Regions from separate parts of the Homo sapiens genome. Here region 1 is linked to region 2. Evidence: promoter capture Hi-C in human tissues and cell types (Jung and others, 2019). All regions are on one chromosome and are shown on one strand. The core of a region is centred on a gene start or on the middle of the fragment in contact, and the rest is flanking DNA. Distances in the headings are between cores, read along the strand shown. Region 1 holds the start of CLCF1 (cardiotrophin like cytokine factor 1). Region 2 holds the start of FOSL1 (FOS like 1, AP-1 transcription factor subunit).

The links. Contacts are between HindIII fragments. The study calls those that stand out against the background at their distance.
Region 1: the fragment with the promoter of CLCF1 here is called in contact with the fragment with the promoter of FOSL1 in region 2 in 1 of the 25 tissues and cell types used here (dorsolateral prefrontal cortex).

What each region holds. Positions count from the first base shown.
Region 1 is chr11:67,371,632-67,376,654 of GRCh38, forward strand. CLCF1 (cardiotrophin like cytokine factor 1) reads right to left here and starts at 1,967. Exons shown (of 3, transcript NM_013246.3): 1 at 1,893-1,967. The coding sequence starts at 1,908. The region is part of intron 2 of LOC100130987 (a long non-coding RNA gene); the gene reads left to right. RefSeq lists silencers at 1,356-1,695, 2,256-2,305. The HindIII fragment of the contact is 15,975 bases long and covers 1-5,023 here.
Region 2 is chr11:65,899,107-65,904,698 of GRCh38, forward strand. FOSL1 (FOS like 1, AP-1 transcription factor subunit) reads right to left here and starts at 1,282. Exons shown (of 4, transcript NM_005438.5): 1 at 1,135-1,282. The coding sequence starts at 1,233. RefSeq lists silencers at 153-380, 346-465, 1,074-1,673 and a cis regulatory region at 4,020-4,400. The HindIII fragment of the contact is 4,995 bases long and covers 1-2,104 here.

The DNA.
Region 1 (5,023 bases), core at 717-3,216, 1.5 Mb after region 2:
GGAGCCAGGGGGGAGCCCAGCAGCCCACTGAGAGCCAGAGGCAGGAGGAGCAGTGAAGGAGGAGTCCAGGGCAGTGGTGGGTGAATTGGAAAGGGTGTTGTTATCAAGAGGGGCGTGGGGGGGGAGGAGAGTGCAGGAGCCAGGTGTGCACAAGAGGTGGGACGTGGGGAGGAATGTGAAGTGTCAGTGAGCCAGTGGCTGGTGTGCAGGGGTGGCGTGCAGGGGTGGTGTGCAGAAGTGTGACGGACAAGAGTGTGGGTCTGTGAATGAAGGGGACAGGGAGCCATTGCACCCATCAGCAGTGTCACTTCTGGGGCTGCCGGGTGACAATTGCCATCTCTGCTTCCTCCCCGGTGGAGCGTGTGGCTCCAGGGCAGCGAGGGTGTCTGAGCTGGCCAGGAGCGCGTCTGGTCTGTTAGGGGAATATGTACTCGCATCCTGTCCGGTGTGAGGGGCAACGTGTGCTCCCGAGCTGTGGCGGAGGTCAGTCGGGGTCAGTGAAAGCACAGAGGTGTCCCTGGGTTAGGGTCAGAGAAGGAGGACCCAGTAGAGCAGCGTGCCCAGTGCCCCCCACCCCTAGCCTCTCTCCAAGGCTTAGCCTCCACCCGCCCGTCTCCCCTCCTCTCCTGGTAGCCCCTCACACCCCGGGGGGAGGGCCAGGCTGGGAGCTGGGGGAACAGGGGTCCTCTGGGATTGGGAGGGTCTGTGGGGAGGGCTCCAGAAGCCCAGCACGGAGTTGTGGAAAGGAAGGCGGGTGGGGAGAGCAAGCATGAGGGGACCTCTGGCGAGCCCCGGGGACTCTTTCGAAGGTTTCCTTCGAGGGGCTCGGCCGGGAAGCTGCACGGCGGCGGTTGCCAGCTGGCCCTCCCTGCTGGCGGTGACCTCTCGCTCTGGGACCCCTCCCGGCGCTGCGCCTTCCCCCTGTGTGGCCTCGGCGCCCCCGGCCCCGCCCCCTCCCGCTCCCGCCCGGTCGCTCCTTCCCCGCGGCGGGGGCGGGGGCGGGGGCGGGGGCGGGGTCCGGGGCACCGGGCTCCGGGCTCTGCCCGGCGCTGCCCTTTCCCGCGCGTCAACTCCCCTCCTGCCCGGGCTGAGCGGCTGCTCCCGCCGCTCCCTGGCCAGTGACAGACTTTTTCCTGCCGGGTCCGGCCCGGCTGCGCCAGCCCCCCGCCAAACAATAATCACTCCCAGGCCACGGTGGCCCGGGGGACTCGCGGCCGCCGCCCGCCGCCCCTACCTGCCGCCGGCTCCCCGGCCGTGGGCACCATGGAGGGTTCCGGCCGCGCGGCGCGTAGCTAGGAAGCCGCGAGTCCCGCGGCGCGGCTCGGCCCGTCCGGCCCGGCCCAGCCAGGCTCGGCGCTGCCCTCCGCCCTCCTCTCCGCCGCCCGCCCTTCCTCCCGCCCGCCCTCCTACCCCTCCCGGCGGGCCGGGGAGGGAGAGCGGCGCGGCCCGAGGTGTCGGCCTCCCCTCGCCTCCCGCCGCCCGGCCTCGGGCTCCCCCGGCCTCCCTCCCTCTTCCTCTCCCAGCCCCTCCTCCCACCCGCAGCCTCGCTCCCCGCCTCGGACTCTCTGGCCCCGACTGGTGCGCGGGGCTCTGGGGCTGCGGCTCCTACGGCCCGCCTCGCTGGGGCTCCAGGTTGCCGCCTCCCCAGGTCTGCGATCGTCCGGGCTCCCCGCCGCTCCCGGCCACCTCCTGGCCCCGCCGTGCGGACTCCAGGAATGCCGCGTCCCCGCCCGGCCCCTCTCGAGGGCGCCCAGCCGTGCCTCCCCCGGCCCGAGCCCAGCTCCCTGGCCCGGCCCCGGCGCGGGGCTCCCGGGGGTCAGGGCAGGACGGGAACCGGATCTCGTGGCTGCTTGGCGGGGCGGGGGTCGGGGCCTCGGCCGCCTGGCTCCTACCTGCTCGGAGGTCCATGGGGCTGGGGCCGGGCCGGCCGGGTGCGGCTCCTCTCCCGGAGGCTGGCGGAGTGGGAGGGCGAGCCGCGGCTCCGGCGAAGCTTTAATAATCCCATCCGCCAGGCCCACTCGCAGGTTTTTTTCGCTCGGTTTCGGATTTTTTTTTTTTTTCGGTGTGGGACATTCTGCAAACTTTTTTTTTTTTTTTCTGACGTGTAAAGCTGTAACCACAAATTGTAGCGGCCCTCCCCGGGGTGGGGGTAGGAGGGGGGAGGAGGGAAGGGAGGGCTTCTGGGGCTCCCTCTCCCTCCCACAGCACCGAGGGGGGGTGAGGTGAGGCGAGGCTGTGGCGGTACCACCCTGGGCCTCCTGGGGGAGGGGGCGGGGAGGCCATCAGTCCGTCTGAGGACTCCCAGGAGCCGGGGGACAGCGCCGGCTTCGGGTGGGCTTCTCCCCAGGCGTTGGCCTGGGACACCGCCCCCTGCCCCCTGTCCCCTGCCGATGCGGGGTCCCTGATCCAACCTACCTCTGCCTGTGCGAGGTCCCTGCTCCCACCCTACCTCTGCCTCCTCATCTCTAACCTTCCCTCCTCCTCCCCCTTGAGTAAATGCAATGACACATTCTCCCAAATGCCAGCGAGCTGGCCTGGGAGCAAGTGATGGTGTTTTTCCTGCTGCCCTTTGTCTGGGCTGACCGCCCCCCCTGCCTATTGTCCCGCCGCTTGTCCCATTTCCAAAAGCTAGAGCTAAGCGAGGCGCTGGGGCTGGGGCAGGTGACTAACCAGCTCACAATGCCCCCTGCGGGGGAGGAAGAGGGCACTGCAGGCCCACTGCCCGGCCCAGAGGCGAGAAGAGGCCACTTGGCGGGACTTTTTCCCTCAAGTTCACAAGGTTCTTCATTCTTCCTCCAGTGACCAGGGAGAATGTACATGGGTGGGGGATTTGTAATTCATTAATCAGCACGAGGCAACGGACCAGTTTCAACACCACAGGCTTCTTGGGTGACTCAGCGGGAATGCTCCGATTCAAGGCGATGGACCGCCCGAGCGTCCCCATTTGTGAAATGTTTCCCCATGAAGACCCTGGCATTCTCCTTCCTTTGGGGTTTCGGGTTGTTGGTTTTTCCGGTGGTGAGGTGGGGGTGGCTTAGCGGTGAGGGCTCCCCCTCCTTCCCGCAGGCCTGGGTTGGGATTTGCTGGGCAGGATACCTGGGGGTATGCCTGGACCCTCCCAGAGGGGGTCCCCTCCTCCCTCTCCAAGGGCTGCCGGGGAGAACACGCTCAGAGGAGGCAGCTCTAACCCAGGGCTGGGGACTGCCCTGCTTCATGATTTTCCTGGGGGAGAGTCATGTGGTCCCCAAGGCTTGGGTGCCCTATAGCCACACCACCAATTAAATCACTGGGTAATAAGTTGCTTTTGTTGTTGTTTATTTATTGTTTCAAAGTGGGAGAGGCCAGTGGTGGGCCAGACCTGGAAGGTGATGCCTCTCCCTGGAGTGGCATCAGAGATTTGTCTCCCACTCCTTCCTGGTGCCCCTGGAATGGGAGGGCACTCTGCCAGTCCAGCCCCAGCGCCTCCAACCTGTGGCCTGGGCAGGCATCCTGATCATGGCCAGTGCTGGGTCCCAGGGCAGCTCTTCCCTTCTCTGTACCGCGAGCACTGAGGTGGGGGGGTGGGGGGGGTGGGGAAGAAGTTTGTTTTCAATTACCTCACTGGAGTGGGACAGACTTTGTTGTTGGGTTGGTTTTTTTTTTTCTCTCTCTCTCTGTCCTTTCTTCCTTTTTTTTTTCCTAAACAAGGAGAAAAAGGGCTGGGAAAGGAGAGCTGGCTTGGGGTGGGGGGCAGGGGACTTTGAGGGACCTCAGTAGCAGCTCTGATGAAAACTGCCTGGAGGGACCCTTGTGAAAAGTGCTCAGGGCCTACCTCTGCCCCCCCCACCGCCCCCGCACCTCCTCCCTGCCCCCACCAGCCAGGACTCTGGAGTTTCAGTGACATTCCTGATGGATGAACCCAGTGATTTCTTGATGCCCATGCCAAGGTCAAGAAGGCAGATGCCCATGGGTGCATGGCACGGAGGCCAGCCAGGAGGTCCCCCTAGCTGCTACCCTTTCAGAGGGAGGGGGCCAAGAAGGAGGGGAGAGGGAGAAGGGGAGCCGCTTCAGCCTCTCCCTCCGCCTCGAAGCCGCTCCTTGTGGAGTCTGCACAATGTGGTTTGGATTTGGCTGAGCCCCTCAGCACCTTATAAAGCACCTTGCTGAGTCAGGGAGAAAGCAGCCCCAGTGTCGGGGGAGCGGAGGGGAGGGGGCGCTGAAGAAAGGGGCGGGGGCGAGAGAAGAGGGGTGAGACCAGAGAAGGGGCAAGACTGGGAAGGAAAGAGGAGACACAAAGAGGCAAATGGGTGGGAGTGAGAAAGAGGGGAGGAGGGAGCTGGGAGGAAGAGGGGGAAGCAGCGGATGCGGGGAGAGGAAGACACTGAAGCAGAAGGTGGGAGTGGACAACGCCATCCCCAGCACACATCCACCTGGGGCAGCCAGAAAGCACTGGTTTGCAGGAACTGAGGGCTGCAGCTCTGAAACAGGGACCCAGGCCAGGTGGGTACAGGGACAATTGGCTTTACACACAGCCCCCCAGTCCCCAGTTTGTCTTTGAATCTTAATGTAGTGACCCCGAAAGCTGGGAAAGTTGTGTTCTCCCTCTGCCTCTTGGACTTGCCTCCCTGCCCTCTCCCCTCACCTAGTGGGGGCCAAGCCTCTCCCCTCCCCTCCCCCACCTTCCACACTGCCAAAGGGAAAAGCAGCTCCATCTCCAAGCTGCCAGTGCCCCTCTGCCATGCCTGGGCAAAGGCAGCAGGCTGGGAGTTGCCAGTTGGGTTGGGTCGGGGGCTGGAATAAAGACTGTGCCTTTATCCTGCCAAGTCCCTAAATGGGGGTAGCTGCTGGGGTTTGGGGAAGAAGGAAGAGAGGAAAGACGGAGCAGGAGTAGCCCCTCCAAGATTTCCGTGGGATGGGGCAGGACAGGTGGCTGCCCTCTGATTTCCAGCTGGAAATCAGGACCTTGGGAAAGTTCCTGCTCCCCTGTGGCTCTCAAAAAGAATCTTGTTAGGGGCCCTTCCAGTGCTAACAATCTGGGGTTGCT
Region 2 (5,592 bases), core at 32-2,531:
CCCATTCTATCAGCCAGCTATCTGAGGAGTGGGTTGGGATGGGGCTCAGTGTTCTGGGAGAAGTGGGTTCTAGCTCTGCCGCTGGGCCCTGGGTGTGGGCGCCCAATCGTCCGGGAAGCGCCCACAAGCCCAGGCAAGTCCCGACAGCGGTAGCCCGAGCCCAAGCGCTGCGGGCCCGGCGTCCCAGTGACCCCAGTTCCGGGTCCGAGGCACCGCCGGCGGCATCTCCCACTCCCGGGCCCGGGCCGCTCCAGGCCAGGAAGGGAGGGACGCCCCGGGTGACTCAGCCGCCGTGACTCGGCCGCCGTGACTCGGCGGAACGGACGCCCCTCCTTCCCTCCCCTGTCGACACGTGCTCGCAGCCCCTCGACAGGAAATGGGCACCTGCAGCCTCCCGGGTGCCCCCCGGCGGGCAGCGGGCGCCGTTAGGGGCTGAGAGTGGGGTCGCGAGAGTCGCCCGCAGCCTGACCCCGCGCACGTCCCGGAACCTCGAGGTCTCTATTCGCCGCATTCGGCAAAGGGATCGAGGGCCGGTCTCCGGGGACCTGGCAGGTTCCACTGCCCGGACCCCCCTGGACTCCCCAGGCCGAGAAACGATAGGGACTTGGCGACGGAGGGGCGAAGGACAGACAGACGGACGGACACGCGGAGGGTCGCAGACCGGGCCGGGACTCCCACCCTGGCCCAGCTGCTCTCCCGACGGATCCCGCCTCCCTCCCGTGTGGGGACCCTCACCCCAGCCCAGACTCCAGATCCCAGGAATTCAGCCCGAAGCGGAGAGACCCTCCTAGCCTTCGAGGCGACCACCCTAGGCGCCCACGCCCCTTCTGAAGCAGGGTGGACGCAGAAGTCAGAGGTGGGCAGGAGGAGAGAAAGCGGGCACGGAGACGGAGGGACGGACGCGGACGGCGAGGGAGAAGGGGGCGGCTGGGAGAAGGGGAGTTCGCGGGTCTCTGCTGCCCGCTGCGCGGTGGGGGCAACTGGCCCCGGACGGCGAGGGGCAGGATCCTCGCCCCAGCCCCCAGCCCGGCCCCGACTCCGGTTCCCCGCTCCAGTCCCGGAGCGTGCGGGAGTTGACCCCGGCCTCCCACGCGCGGTCCTCCCGTGGGACCACCGGCGTCGGGCCCCACTCACCTGCTGGGCTGCCTGCGCTGCGGCCGGGGGCTGCGCGGGGCCGCCGTACCCGCCGCCGTTCCCGGAGCTCGGGCCGGGTTCCCCGAAGTCTCGGAACATGCCCGGGGCTGGCGGCTCTGCGGGGTACACGGCTGCTGGGTTCTGACTCACCCGCGCCGTGCGGAGTCTTTTCTTTTTATGAATGAAAAGTTCTCGGGCTGAACCACTGCGACCGCGGGGGGTGGGGGCGTTGCAGCGGCGCGGTCACCTCCAGGCTCCACCCCCGAGACGCGCCGCCTTGGCCCGTCGGTCCCGAACTTGGCGACGCCTCCCCAAGTCCGGCTGCAGCCTTTTCACCGGGATGGGCCCGGCTCGGCGTTCCCCGGAGGCTGCGGGCCCGCCCCCCTGACGTAGCTGCCCATACATGGTGTAACTTCCTCGCCGCGCCCAGGTGGAGCCCCGGGTTCCCCTGCGGACTGACGCACCTGCCAGAGCCCGCGCCCCGCCCCAGCCCTCTCGAGGCCTGGGCTAACCTCCGTTTCTGCTCCCACAAAATAGCACGAAAGAATCACATCTCTAGGAGCCACGCCAACCGCCACCCAAAGCTTCGTGGAGTGAGGTCTTTCCACTGGCCTTGTTTTAAGGCTTCGAGTATATGAAAAGTGAATAAATGACAAACCAGGGTTACAAAAATGGTGGCATATTTTATTTTACTTTATATTTTTGAGACCGGGTCTCTGTCACCCAGGCTGGAGTGCAGTGGCTCGATCTCGGCGCACTGCAGGCTCAACTTCCTGAGCTAAAGGGATTCTCCTGCCTCAGCGCCCCCTCCAAGTAAGTGGGACTACAGGCGCGCGTCACCACACCCAGGTAATTTTTGTGTTTTTTGTAGGGATTGGGTCTCGCCGTATTGCCCAGGCTGGGTGGTATATTTTAAATGTTTGCGATAAGGTAATGCTTTGAACTAACCCCACATAAAATGCAATATAATAGTATTACTCAGGATAATTTCAGGAGCTATAACGAGTTTTAATTCAGGGCCACTACAGGTGTCCTGAGGTCTGATAAACGCCATCTTCATTACGGTCAGTGCCTTTCGGAGGCTTGTGGCCACCAGACTTGTTTGGAGAGTATGTCAAAGGTGAGTGAATGTGAGGCAGGTATCATCCTCATCTCTGTTTTACAGATGGGGAAACTGAGGCTGGGAGATGCTGAAATGAATTGCTTGAAGTCGCTAAGTGAGTAGCTGGCACAGGTTGCCAAGTCACAGCCGTGGGCACTCCAAGCCCAGGCTCAGCCAAGATTTTCAAAGCCCTTACACCTTCACAGACACCTTGTCGCACATCCAGAATGTTAGTGCTGGGCACCATCCCAAAGCTTCTCTCTGATTACTTCCATCATAGATGAGGAAACTGAGGCCCAGATGGAGTACTGAGCTGTCAGTTGTCACACGACTACAGAAAGAGGGCTGGGGCCAGGTGTGGTGGCTCATGCTTGTAATCCTAGCACTTTGGAAGGCCAAGGCAGAAAGAACCATTTGAGACCCCATCTCTACAAAAAATTATAAAATTTTCTGGACATGGTGGTACGCCTGCCTTGTGGTCCCAGCTGTTCTGGAGGCTGAGGCGGGAGGATGGCTTAAGCCAGGGAGGTTGAGGCTGCGGTGAGCTGTGACTGCGCCACTGCAGTCCAGCCTGGGGGACAGAGCAAGACTCAAAGTAAATAGATCAAGAGAGGGCTGGGCTCTCCTGCTTCTCCATCGGTCCTTCCATTTCATCAGCTCTAGCTTTGCCCTCTGGGCTACTTTCCTTGGGAACACAGGCCAGAAGCCTGTGGGTGCACTCAGGACTTAGAGCCAGGAAGTCCAGATTGCCCCTGGGGTTCTAGTCCCAGAGCTACCATTTTCTGTCTGTGTGACACTGGGCAGGTCACCTTCCTTCAACTGGGCCTCCCTGCTGATCTCACAGAGCTGTTGTGGGATCAAGTGAGATCACAGATGTGAAAATGCTTTGTAAGCTATAAAGTGTTATGCACTCAGAAAGTGGTTACCAGCCTGGTGCCTCTCCTTTGCCTTTGAGCGACCCAATGCTTGTCACCCTCTTGTCATCATCATCTCTGTGTGTGTGTGTGTGTGTGTGTGTGAGAGAGAGAGAGAGAGAGAGAGAAAGAGAGAGAGAAAGGAGAGGAGAGTGTTTTTGAGGCAGTATGATCCGTGGACAGAACACCCGTGCTGGGGTCAGACAGCTCTGGGGTCTGGGTTTGAATGTGGTTAGGCTGCTCACCAGTTGTGTGACCTAGGTGAGGCACACAATCTCTCAGAGCCTCTTTCATTATCTGTGAAATGGAGACATAATGATAACTATCTCAAGGGTTGTTGGAGGACACAAGTAATGTCACATGCTTAGCACAGCACATAGTAAGAATTTGACACATAGGCTGGGTGCCGTGGCTCACGCCTGTAATCCCAGCACTTTGGGAGGCTGAGGCAGGTGGATCACGAGGTCAGGATTTCGAGACCAGCCTGACTAACATGGAGAAACCCCGTCTTTACCAAAAATACAAAAGTTAGCTGGGCATGGTGGCCCATGCCTGTAGTCCCAGCTGCTTGGGAGGCTGAGGCAGGAGAATCGCTTGAACCCGGGAGGCGGAGGTTGCAGTGAGCCAAGATTGCGCCATTGCACTCCAGCATGGGCAACAGAGTAAGACTCCGTCAAAAAACAAAACAAAACAAAACAACCCAGGGGTGAGAGCCTTTGGGACTGATCACACATGAAGGCACTCACACAGCACATGTGCACACACACTGATACCTCAACTTCTTGGCAGAGCCCAAGCTGGACAGGTCAAGTGTGACACAGGTAACCAGGGGAGGGGTGACACAGGTCAGCCTTGACTGCATTCACTTGCCTGCTCCAGAAACATCACCCTGCACCTGACCCCACCGCCCCCAAGCAGTGGATGCTGGGGCCACTGGGGCAGCTGAGGGAGCAGGGATTCAGGTCTGGGGTGTGTGTGTGTGTGTTACATGACTTTGAAAGTCTCTTCCTGCTCTAACCGTCACTGGAGCCACAAGGAGGTCCTTTCAGAGGGAGCACATTCCAACCTCCTCAGTCACTAACCCCCGCCTTGTGGCTGCAGAAACGTTCCTGGCCTCTGACCTCACCAGCTTCCACCCAGGGAGGCCAGGAGAGAACCCCAGGGGGCCACAGCCATCGCTGGAAGTTTGGGGGCAGGGAGGCCTGAGGGACCCTGCCACTGTGCCTTGGTGGCTCTGTAAGACTGGCTCAGTCCCTTCCCATCTCTGAGCCCCAGAGAATCCCTGCCTTTTGGGGCTGCAGTGAAGGAGAGGAGGCTTGGCACCCTGTGCATTCTCAGCATGGCCAGGGCATTGGAGGTGATATTTATGTTTATCAGTTTCTATTCACTCTTTAATTGAAGTCTATGTTGTTTTTGTTTGTTTGTTTGTTTGTTTGGTTTGAGATAGGATCTCACTCTGATGCCTAGATGCCTAGGCTGGAGTGCAATGGCAGGATCGCAGCTCACTGCAGCCTCAACCTTCTGGGCTGAAGCGATCCTCCCTCCTCAGTCTCCCGAGTAGCTGGGGCTACAGGCGCGTGCCACTACGCCCAGCTAATTTTTTTTGGCTCAAGCAATCTGCCTGCCTCGGTCTCACAAAGTGCTAGGATTACAGGTGTGAGCCACCGCACCTGGCCTTTGAAGTTTACATTTTTACTTGAGATTAAATTCATGTAACAAACAATTAACTACTTTAAAGTGTACACTTCAATGCCATTTATTACATTCACAATGTTGTACAACCACCACCTTTCTTTAGTTTCAAAACTTCATCACTCCAGAAAACACCCCACACCTATGAAGTAATTACTCCCTATTTCCCCCTTCCCTCATCCCCTGGTATCCACTAATTTGCTTCCTGTCGCTATGGATTTGCCCATTCTGGGCATTTCAAATAAATGGACTCATTCATATATTATGTGGTCTTTTGTCTGACTTCTTTACTTAGCATAACATTTTTGCTTTTTTTTTCTTTCTTTCTTCTTCTTCTTTTTTTTTTTTTTTTAGATGGAGTCTTGCTGTTGCCCATACTGGAGTGCAGTGGCCCAATCTTGGCTCACCGCAGCCTCGGCCTCCTGCACTCCTCAAGTGATCCTCCTGCCTCAGCCTCCCAAACTGCTGGGATTCCAGGTGTGAGCCACCGCACTGGGCCAGCATAACATTTTCTTTTCTTAGTATTATTATTTTTTTTAAAAACGGAGTTTCGCACTGTGGCCCAGGCTGGAATGCAGTGGCATGATCTCTGCTCACTGCAAGCTCCACCTCCTGGGTTCACAGCATAACATTTTCAAGGCTCATTCATGTTATAGTATGTATCAGTACTTTGCTCATTTCTATGGCTGAGTATATATAACCATTTATTTATTTATTTTTGAGATGGAGTCTTGCTCTGTCGCCCAGGCT